2 separate regions of the Homo sapiens genome follow, and region 1 is linked to region 2. Evidence: promoter capture Hi-C in human tissues and cell types (Jung and others, 2019). All regions are on one chromosome and are shown on one strand. Each heading gives the region's core, a stretch centred on a gene start or on the middle of the fragment in contact. The rest is flanking DNA. Distances are from core to core; before and after follow the strand shown.

Region 1 (5,582 bases), core at 1,183-3,682, 1.7 Mb before region 2:
GTTCCCCCCAGGGCCTAATTTCCAGTGGGTAGAGATTACTGCTCAGCAAAAAAGTTCCTTGCGTTCACATCGTCTAAAAGTTCTGCAGCACATCTGAAACCACACAGCTGCCATCTGCGGTTTGCCATCTATTTGCACCTATACTTATCTGCAGTTCTTAGTCACTGGGAAGAGTATACTGGTTATCTGAGTAGGAAAAAAAAGAGAACCAGTGAGTAACTGTAAAGCAGACTGGAAGGGCAAGAATATTTCTGGCTGTGCTTTTTAGCCCATCCCCAGGAAGAGGAAGTAGTACTCCATTTTCACATGTCTTCATCTGATGTTCACCGCTCTGCTCCCAGGAGGCTAAGCTCCAGCCCCACATCTTGGCTGTGTTTAGTCCACCACATTGCTAACAGTGTGCTAATCAGATGGACAATCAAACTTCTGGATTTGCACCGATATATGGGTCTCACTGGCACAGAGATGTGAAACGGGGAAGCACAAAAAAATCCTACAGAATAATGGTATCACAGTTCTTATGGAAAGAATGAAGCACCAGGAAATATAAATACTATTGAGGGTATTTCAAATTATTTAAAAATGTAGCGTATTTGTATGGGGCCAGGATGGAGGAGAGGGCAGATGGACACTTGGAAGCAAGTATTTGTATCAACTCCGTTGAAGAAGTCCAACAGAGAGACATGATAAGCATCCAGGGTCATGAAAACCACAGAGTCGTCAGAATAAAAACGTTGCCCTTACATACAGCTGCACTGGACACAAGTTACTCTCATGTAACCACAAAACAAGTAGCATTTTATGAACATTCTCTGTCAATATCTATGGGAACTATTCTTTTCCAGCATGTCCTCACATGCTAGCCTTGCTAATTTGGACTTCTTAGGCGAGTCTTCCTACACATCAGTTTCCTTAAGCTTGATACAGACTTCTGAAGATCGGAAGACTGTTATCTTGGCAAACTGAAGAATTAAAAAAAGCATAATCCAGTAACAACATGGAAAGCAAAGCCGTGACTTTAAAATAAACACAAACACAACAACAAACCAAACTGTATTACTGTTTTCTTCTACCACAGGGCTATCAAATCTGAGTGTCAAAAAAACAAAAAGAATAAGGTAAGTTGAAAAATAAGAAGGCTGATAAAAAAATAATTAGTGTGAATATACAACCTAGGAAGCTAAGATTTATCTATTTAACACCCTGACATCAATTCAAACTATGTACTCTAGAAACAAGAATTCAATTTCTGAAACTCAAATTAATGTAGTTGAATGCCTTGAGTTTCACAGTTATCTTTTAAGATGCTAACTTAGAAGAAAAGTTCTAAACATGGAAATGATAGTGTTCACTGAATGCCAAAAATAAATGACTGTTTCTTTAAAGTTAATTAATAAAATCTTCTGAAACAGAAACATCTATTTAATTTGCCAAAAGGAAAAAAAGAATTTCATTCATTTTTTTTTCTAACTTCTTCCTTTTATGTGTTTTTCACTGTGGCTTTAAAATGAGAAAAATGAGAAATATAATCATGACTTTCCGAGGGCCTCATTATTCTTGTTTAGTTTAATATATTTAAAAAATTCAGCATTACTTCAAATCACATAGCACTTCATCCTATAATACCAAATTTGCCTTATCTTAGAGCAAGTTTTATGGTATACTTTCCCCTAAATGGCCTCACTTGAAGAAAGAAAAATACAGAAGAATTTATTTTCCTTTTTTTTTTTTTTGAGACGGAGTCTCGCTCTGTCACCCAGGCTGGAGTGCAGTGGTGTGATCTTGGCTCACCACAAGCTCTGCCTCCCAGGTTCACGCCATTCTCCTGCCTCAGCCTCCCGAGTAGCTGGGACTACAGGAGCCCGCCACCACACCCGGCTCATTTTTTGTATTTTTAGTAGAGACGGGGTTTCACAGTGTTAGCCAGTTTGGTCTCGATCTCCTGACCTCGTGATCCGCCCGCCTCGGCCTCCCAAAGTGCTAGGATTACAGGCGTGAGCCACCGCGCCCGGCCCAGAATTTATTTTCAAGAAGAAATTTATACTTAGCAAAGTTAATTTAAACAAAACAAGCCCTCTACTTGATGAGATGGTTCTCACTGACATTTGATTAACTCTTATTTTGCATGCAGGGAGCCACAGCTAAAACACTGTATAAACTATCAGTGATGTAGGATGTGTGAGTTTTTCACCCGTGAAAATATCGTTCAATATGATAGGAAGAATCACTTGAATTAATACCACATTGCTATGGTTGTGTTTTGAAAACTTAAAGCAGTAAATCATGCATTAAGAAGTAATAACTGGCTTAGCTTCAGTGACTTTTCTATGCAACACTATTAATTAGTTTTCTGCACTAAACAGAATAATTTGGAAAAAGTAGATTCTAAAATTGAGTCACAGTTTAGAACTCCCCTCCTCTTTGCCAGCATTGAAATATGACTGAAGATGTTATCAAGTACAAATGGATGCTCTTAAAGAAAATGGTACAGTTTTATTTCTTTAATTTCAAATATTCATGATGAACAATAATAGGACATTCTACCCAGAGCTCAGAAAGAAGAGTGTTAAACATGGAACAACTTTGAAGCAGTTTGGTAAGTTGATTTTGTTTGTATGTGCACTTAAAAGGTTTTGATGACATATATTACTTAATTGCTTCTACTTGGGAAGAGAAAGGATACCAGGATACAGAACTGAGTTTACAGGTGCCATCATGCTATGCGAGGCTTGGACACTGAGGGAGAAGGTCAATCTACTGAGAGAAAAGTCACAAAATAAAGCAATAAACACCACATCTAGAACAGGAGAAATTCTATCACAGCTTTCGCATAAAGCCTTTTAACCATTAAAAACCGTATGAATGTCAAATAGCAATCAGTGAAGACATTCAGGGCCATAGGTATCTTTGACTATACAGACCTGGAAAGCTACTGGCTACAGACACTCAAGAGTGAAAAGACGGAAGAGCAGAAAGTGATGGCAGGTGCACATGTGTGCGTGTCTACATGTGTGTGCGTGCAAGCACATGTACACATAGGGGGTATAGATCAAGAAAACATACCGTCCAGGCTCAGTGATGTACACTGACGCTTTTCTGAGAAAGACCAGACAGTACTGGCAATAAACTGCACCTCCCCCAACCCCCGACTTTTTTGTTTGTTTGTTTTGCTAGAGACATGTTTAACAACATAAGATTATTTATGGAGTTGTTTATTTTATTTCCCCTCAAACTATTGTTTGGAACAGCTTGGTGTCTTGATTTTTAATAAATTCTGTTGAGGAAAAACATCACTTTCTAAGTCTAAGATCTTACTGTTAAAAGTTATGACGATTTATGCAGGTGGAATCTCTCAGTTAAGAAAAAAAATTTAACATAATTTCAAAATAAAAAACAAAACAAAAAAAAAGCTTTTCTTCTAGTATAATTTAAGGGACCGTTTCTTATTGCCACAGTAATTCAGAAAAACTTAATATAGTGGGAACATGAGAGTCAATGGTAAAAGAATAAGTAACTTCACATAGAAGAGCCAGCCTTAGACACACCTGAATATGTGTCCTGAGCTAGGGAATCCGGGAGTGGCCAATGTGGAGAGTCATTCCTTGTCTATGAGGAACAGCTGAGCCCTCGGCCCATCCTGTGGAACATGGGCCGTACAGGGACTCGAGGTCCTAAGTTCTGGATTAAATGAAGGTTGCCAGGTGGAAGTCATTAGCTGGGTGGTGTTAAGTGAAAATGCTATAGATGAACTACATGCTGTTTGCAAGCAGTTGCAGTTTTCCTGCCCAGCTCACTGCCACAGGGCCATGTGGATATCTTGTCCAGCCCACTGCCACTGGACTCTCTCTTTCCTTGTATATAAGCCCCCAATAAAACCCCATGTCTTGAAAAAAAAAAAGTCATTCTTGATATGCTTAATATGGGCCAAAATCTACTAAGATAGAGGAATTGTGTTTTAAAAATAGGCGGCCAGATGACCACTGCAATAGCAATGACTCAGCTCACATTTTTAAAGAAAAGAATAATGTAAGAGTTCTAAAGATAAAACATAATTCCCTATTGTCTATATTAGCTGTACTTAAGCATCAGATTTTTAAAAATGAAACTTCCCAGGGAAGGGATAGTGATAATATCTAATGAAAATATTCTGAACCATGGAGAAGCAGGTGTTTGAGTGAATTATTTCCAGCACATAATCCAGTGCCTGCTCTGAAGATTCTGACAGTCTCAATCATTAAAATATCCTTGCCAAGATACGAAAAGGTCTAGCTGGGAAAGGGTCAGAGTAAAAAGTTCATGGTGGGGAGGGTGCACATCCCACAACCCTCTAGCTCTTTCTACTGTCACTAATTGCATGCAATGATATTAATGACCCAGTAATTGCGAGACGAGTGGCACTGAAGTGGAAAACATCCATCGGAGGCAGAGTTCATCTCTAGGCGGTGGGACTTCACCAGCGACCGAATTAATGTCTGCTGACAGTTTAGAATATAACAACACTGCAGAGGAGAAAATGCGTCACTCTCATGGACACACACAGCTTAGATGGACATCACAGCTTAGATGGACATGTTGTTTGCTTTGACCATCTAGAGACCAGTAGTAACCCCAATAAGGTGCCCCTATCTAAATTTGCCCTACACATGAACCTTATTCCGTCCAGGGGACATGTTCTATCCTCTAAGAATCCAGAGCAATTTCCCGCGTTTGTGCCAATAAAAGAATACCTTCATCCCCTGTTTAACATCAGGAACAACAAAATGGGCTACTTCACCAATGCAAAAAACCACTTGCAAAGCACAACTGTCACCCAGCCTGGCTCCTCTGTAATGAGATCAATTACACTCCAGCTTGAGGGTCTGCCAATCCATCAGTCCTTCTATGCAGCCAGCCAGCCAACAAAACTGCTGCACTTGTACTTGGCTAAGGGAATTTGAAGTCTCATACCACCTCTACTTGTATGTTTGAGAGATTTTTATTTTTAATCACTATATGATGTAGCAACTTTCTATTGAGGGGCTTAAAGTACTTGCTAACATAAAAACACAAAATAGTATAGATTTATTGAAAAAATGGAATTAAGAGTATGTCTAAAAAGAAAAAGAAAATTCATAAGAGCTAACAAATTGCCACTATAACCACCTTTTCCCAATGGCCTTCCTTTCCTAGTACCCTGTAGGATTTTCTTAGTTCAACTTTGGGGGCAGATGATTGCAAGCTGGTTATATGTTACACAATATATGACAAAGCGTCAGTACCAAAATGTCTGATACAAGCATACAGTCCATCCTTTATAGTTCATGAGCTTCTCTGCTGTTGCTATGTATGCAACATGTGTGTACGTATACTCTGCTGTCTCTACATATGTGTTATGTATGCATACATACTATCTTTACTATTGCTACATGTGCACTTAGATGTTTGGACCCAGGAGGCACTGTTGTAAACTAACAACGCCGGCCTAAGGGTCCAGCGGCCCTGGACTGAGTTTTGTTTCTGACATTTGATGGCCAACTGAATTGTACTAAGCTACTCACACTAAGTTTCAGCTTTCTCACAGTGATAAAAATTGCTCTAAGACC
Region 2 (5,672 bases), core at 3,129-5,628:
TCTGATTTTTTCTGCACGTCCTTTACTTTTCTGTATTCGTTCTAAAGTTGAACACAAATCTGCAAAAGGAACGTGAGATGCAACAGTTTGTGAAGTTTGTGAGGCAGCCATCAAAGCGGTGATGAATCTTCTCGTTTAACTAGTAAAGCAAAAAGAGAATAACTTTAAGTAAAAGATAAGATTCAACTAAATATTTAATGTAAAGATCTTACAAAGATCACTGAGATCATAATAAATGTTTATTAATGTTTACTAAAAAAAAGATCAATGCTCTAAATGATGTATCTTTTCAACCTCTACATTTAATAACTGTTTTGCTCCAACCCTAATTTGAAGTTATTATGAAAAGTATCATCAGCTATATAGCTGTATTTCCTGTATTTATAATACAGAAATCATTTTAATTTTCTCTTTAAATTCCAGTTATTCTATGTATTAATTATTTAGCACATAATACAAACAAATATTGCTAATAATGGTGACAAAAAAACTCATCAGGCTTAATTCACTTCACTTCTGAGCTTCTGAGGGAAGGCCTTTCATGTATGTCTCTTCTTTCCCTGTCAGACTACCACATAGCACCAGAAATGAACTTGATCTTCGAACAGATATTTTTAACAAATCACTCATTTGCTGAACTGAAATTTGACTTCCTAGAAATCCTAATCATAGGCAGGGCCCTTGACCAAAAAACAAAACAAAGGAAAAAACAGGTACCCTCTTCTTCCAGCCAAACAAAGCCTACGTCTATGTTTCCTTTCACTTCTTCACTGCTAGCTATGCCAAATCACACCAGCATTCGATTCCAACTCAAAATGCCCTACCCATAAAATCCTCACTTTATCTATTTTACCATAGTTACTTACTGTCTTATAAGTATAAATTTATTAGTATGCTGCTTTTTTCATATTTCCATGCCAGTTATTCCCTGAGTATTTAATGACTACATATGAGATGTGCTACATACACTGTGCTAGGGGAAAATACTGCATGTTTCTGCTTTAAAAGAAAATATATTCTGTAAAAAAAAAAAAAGAAAAAAAAGAAAAGAAAAAAAGGGGGGGAGTGTAGTGGAAACTGAGTATAATAAAATGCCAAGTGCTTTAACAAAATAAAACAAACGTAAAATGTCCTGAGGGGAGAGCTTTTCCCTAAAGTATCTGCTAAAGTCAGAGAAGAAATAATGGGTACCTTGCTAAGCTAGGGCAAGAATATTTCCTAAAATTTCACAAGTGTAAATTTCTTTAGTTTTAAATATTCATACAAGTTCTACTGGAAGATAAATATATTAGAGTAATTTTAATATGGTTTAAACTATGTAATGTTAAATAACTTTTCCAAAAAAAGATTTCAAGTAAAATGTATGGTCCATGAATAGAAACTATGTTTTATCCTGTGGTTTCAGACCCCTCCTGGCACACCACCATGTATCCCAGGCAGTGGAGTTGGAGAAGTTTTGCTGGGAGTGGGGAGATCTATTACAGTGCAGAAAATATGTGACTCCCCATCTTCCAATTCGCAAACAAATGAGCAACACACACATGCACAAGGCTACATTATCTAGTATCCAGTAAAATAAATCAAATGGCTAATTACAATACTACATTTACTATACTGTCAGTATCTAGAGGCCAGGAATTGTGCTGTAATTTGTGCTCTAGTGGCAGACATGTAGGAGGTTTGCTGAATGAATTACTGAACACCTAGAGTTGACTCCTGGATAAGCACACTAGGGAAAGCTATGGTCTGGTTACATACCACACACTCACACACGCACGCAGACACACAGTGGGTGAGATTCAGTTTGGTTAAAAATATTCAGTAGCTCTGACTGCCCTGGCAATGGTTTACAACAGCCATTTGGTGGCCTATAGAGAAAAAAGGTGCACTTCTCAGTCTAATTTCTGACAAAGGAAACCCAGCTTCTACTGAGTGGGTTAGATCGAGGGATAAACGCATGACAGACCACTTTCCTGAAACTTTTATCTTTGAATATACTGTTGTTTCCTCTCTCTGAATCTGGTTTGCATAACTGACTGTAACACCTGGTTATGTATGTTCACTGCCCTATCTCCCAAAATTTGCTCCCTCAAGGGAGTAAACAGGGTACACAATGCTATATCTACAATTTCTATATAAACTATGTAAAATAAAGTAGGTTAACTAATATTTCTTTAATATTCAAATATTGGTATATAGTTTCTACAGATATATCTATAGATTCTACATGGTCTCAAAGTTAAAGTTTCGCTCAACAAATCCCAGGCAAGGACTTAAATTACTTTATAATGACAAAATGTAGGTAATGGTGTGGATACACATGTATCCTAAAATGGCTACGCCTATAACAAGGATTCCAAAATTGCCATAAACTAGTCGTAAGTATTTTTGCTCATTACAACGGCATAAAAAGTCAAAGATTAGGACTTCCATTCATTTTTACATGCTAATTTTATTTTTTGGATTCTGAGGATTTTAGCTGATTCATTCCATTTGCAGTAAGACAAATGAGGAGGTTCCTGGTTAGGGCTCAGGTTTTAGACTCTAATAAATCTGAGTTCAAATGTGGATGGTAACATTTAACAGCTGTGTGATACTGGGCAATTACTTAATTTCTCTAAGCTTCAGTTTCCTAAAGTATAAAATGGGGTTAAAAACTATGTAGAAATTAGAATGAAGATAAAAATCAGATAATCTACAAAATGTGCTTTAAAAAGTAGTAAGTCTTGATAATTTTAATACTATAATGCTTGCTGATCCAAGCAACATTTAAAATATAAATATTGCAAAATATTAACGAGATAAAAAGGTGGGAAGAAGCTTCACTCTTTAACAATAAGCAAAGCTTTCAGGAGAATGAATGCAAGCAATTAGTACACAATAACGATTCATCATTCATTCAGTTCTGACTAAATTGTCCTGAAGTGACACATGAAAATAAACCGGCAGGTTTTATTCAGTGACTATGGAAGGTGATTAAGTGCTATGCTATTGCACTTAAAAAAGAGAGAGGAAAAAAAGGAGTAAGTGACGAATGCAACTGAAGTATCCTTCATGCAACCCTTGACAAGCTGTGTTTCCCTAGGAAACAAAGGGTTTACAGCTGCCTATCTTCCACAGCACTTAGTGACAATTTGGGACAATCTCAGCAAAAAGAAATGAGCAGACAAAGACGCTAGAAGGGCTTTGGGATCCCAAAAGTTAATGAAAGACCAAGTGTAAGAAGAGAAATAAAGTAATTCCCTCCAAGCCTAAAGTCTCTCCCGCTCCAATGCCCCCTGTACCCTCTCGGAAAATGGAAAATCCCTAAGGAGTCTACATCATTCCTCTGCCCGTTCCCCCTACTCTCCCCCAACCCTTCACGGATTCCCAGTGAATACCTGGCCTCGGGCAAGCTCCGTTACCTCTGTGAACCAGAGAATCCCAGCTGTAAAATGAGATCTTGATGGTTTCCTGCGGGGTTGCCATGAGAAAGAATCAACATGTACGCAGGTAAAGCAGGCAATACAGTTCCAGGGAGTCAAAAACGGGAGAAATCGTCCCACGACCTGGGGCTTGGGTCTAGATGAAGAGCACAGCATCAGGAGGCCAGGCTTCTAATGCGGCGCAGTCTACAGCGCTGTGGACTCGGCAACTCCCATCACCTGCCGCTGCACAAACACCCTGCTTGCTGCCCCCATAGACCGACCCCCGCCTGACGCCTCCCAGACCCCCCCACCTGACGCCCCTCAGGCCCCCCGCCTGACGTCCCAGACACCCCCACGACCGGATCCCCCAGACCCCCAATCTGACGCCCCACTTCCCCTACTTGACTCCCCACACATCCCCCGCCTGACGACCCCCCGACCCCCGCCTGACGTCCCAGACACCACCCATCTGATCCCCCAGACCCCCAATCTGACGCCCCACACCCCCCACTTGACTCTCCACACACCCCACACCTGCCACCCCACGTAAACCCCGCCTGACACCTCACAGACCCTAACCTGACGCCCCACAGACCTCCCCCGCCTCCTGCCGCCACACACACCCCAAACCCCGCCCCGAACACCCCCCACCTGCCGCCCCACAGATTCCCCCCTCTGACGCCCCACAGACCCCCAACGTGACGCCCTACAGACCCCAACCTGACGTCCCACAGATACCCCGCCTGACGCCCCACAGACCTTCCCCCGGTCTGTTGCCCCACAGACTTCTCGCCGCCTGCTGGACCACACCTTCCACTTGACTCCCCCCACACCGTCAATCTGCCACCCCCCACCCCCCCCACCCCAACCCCCCCCAACCTCCCAACCGCCCCCACCTGCCACCCCACACCCTTCCCACCTGACGTCAAGCCTGAAGCTCAGCCGCTAAGCCGGAAGCTGGCGCCAGAAGATGCCGGTTCCGCCAGCTGCTCGCCGCGCAGGCGCAGGGGAGACCCGGGGCCTTGCAGTCACCGGGCTCAAGCACGCCGGCGCAGCCAGGCTCGCGATGGGAGGTGGGGGGGCCGGCAGCCCCGTGGGGCTGCGGAGGCGGGACCTGCAGGATCCTGGTTAGGGTCTTGAGTACACACGGCTCCTATTGGCCTCGGCAGCAGATGCTCTCTGCAAGCAGTTGATCCACACGCCAGTGGATTTTGTCTCGAGGGAGACCTAAGATCACTTTGTGCTCTGGCTAGTGATAGCCTCTAATTCTTGTTCTCTGTACGTAAAACAGTGGTAACTATACTGATTTCGCTGGTTGTGAAAACTCCCAAGAGAGAACAGGACATCCTCCCAACTCAAAACGTTGGTTGTTTCATTTAAACTTTTAAAAAATAGGCTTTTGCAAACTATATAGAGCTGTTTTTTTTTTTAAATGATGTTTGCTACTGTGGTCTCAGTTCTCTTAATACAGAAATAATACATAACAATACATAACTTACAATATAGAAATAAACCGTTGCATGACCAGAAATCAACTATGGACTCTTCTAGTATCTGTTTAAGGTTTAAAAATAAAGTTATTTAACAAACCTTTATTGAGCACCTATTATTATATAGTAATGGTGCTAGATATTCAGGGTGGAGAGATTATAAACAACCCCAGTTTTTGTGTTCCAGGAGCTGTTGGTTTCCACCGAATTTTTGCTGTGGTCAGTCCTCTTTCGCCATGGAGAAGTGAGAAGTTATTCATAAAGAGGGGTGGAAACAACTTTTAGAACTATTTTATTTTAGCATAAAATATTGCTTTACAATAAAATAAATTTTGCTGCAGTGGGCCCTGATAAAACATATTAGAGCTGTTAAGTGCCCTTAGAGGTTGTGTAATGTATAAAAACCTCCTTTTTCAAAACTGACACATTTCATTCAGTGCTAGTTTGTAGCGGAGGTTCCGTCTAGCCCAAGAACATTCAGTTATTTACTTCGTATGTCTAATTGACCTAATATGCCTGAATATCTAAAATCATCTGTGATGTTGTAAAGTCTCATGATATTGTTTTGTGAGTATCTGCTCTTCAATTTAGTTATCAATTTATTTTGGAGGAAAAATGAATAGTGTTAAGGTAGAGGAGCCTCCACTTGCCCATCTTAGGAGAGGGTACCTATCCGTGTACATTTGTAGCTTGTTCAACCTCTACTGAGCTCCTACAATGTCAGAAGCTGGACTTTGTATTAGTTACATGAGAAGAACCATGAATTATGAAACCA

The links. Contacts are between HindIII fragments. The study calls those that stand out against the background at their distance.
Region 1: a contact is called between a fragment that was not itself captured here and the fragment with the promoter of LIG4 in region 2, in 1 of the 25 tissues and cell types used here (dorsolateral prefrontal cortex).

What each region holds. Positions count from the first base shown.
Region 1 is chr13:106,499,878-106,505,459 of GRCh38, forward strand. The region is part of intron 2 of EFNB2 (ephrin B2); the gene reads right to left. Among named protein-coding and RNA genes, the nearest start is that of EFNB2, 33 kb to the right of the region's middle. The HindIII fragment of the contact is 5,118 bases long and covers 1-4,991 here.
Region 2 is chr13:108,211,158-108,216,829 of GRCh38, forward strand. It overlaps LIG4 (DNA ligase 4), which reads right to left and starts at 4,379. Exons shown (of 3, transcript NM_206937.2): 1 at 4,327-4,379; 2 at 3,381-3,453; 3 at 1-139. The coding sequence starts at 111. RefSeq lists an enhancer at 4,304-4,598 and a silencer at 4,442-4,581. The HindIII fragment of the contact is 8,794 bases long and covers 1,231-5,672 here.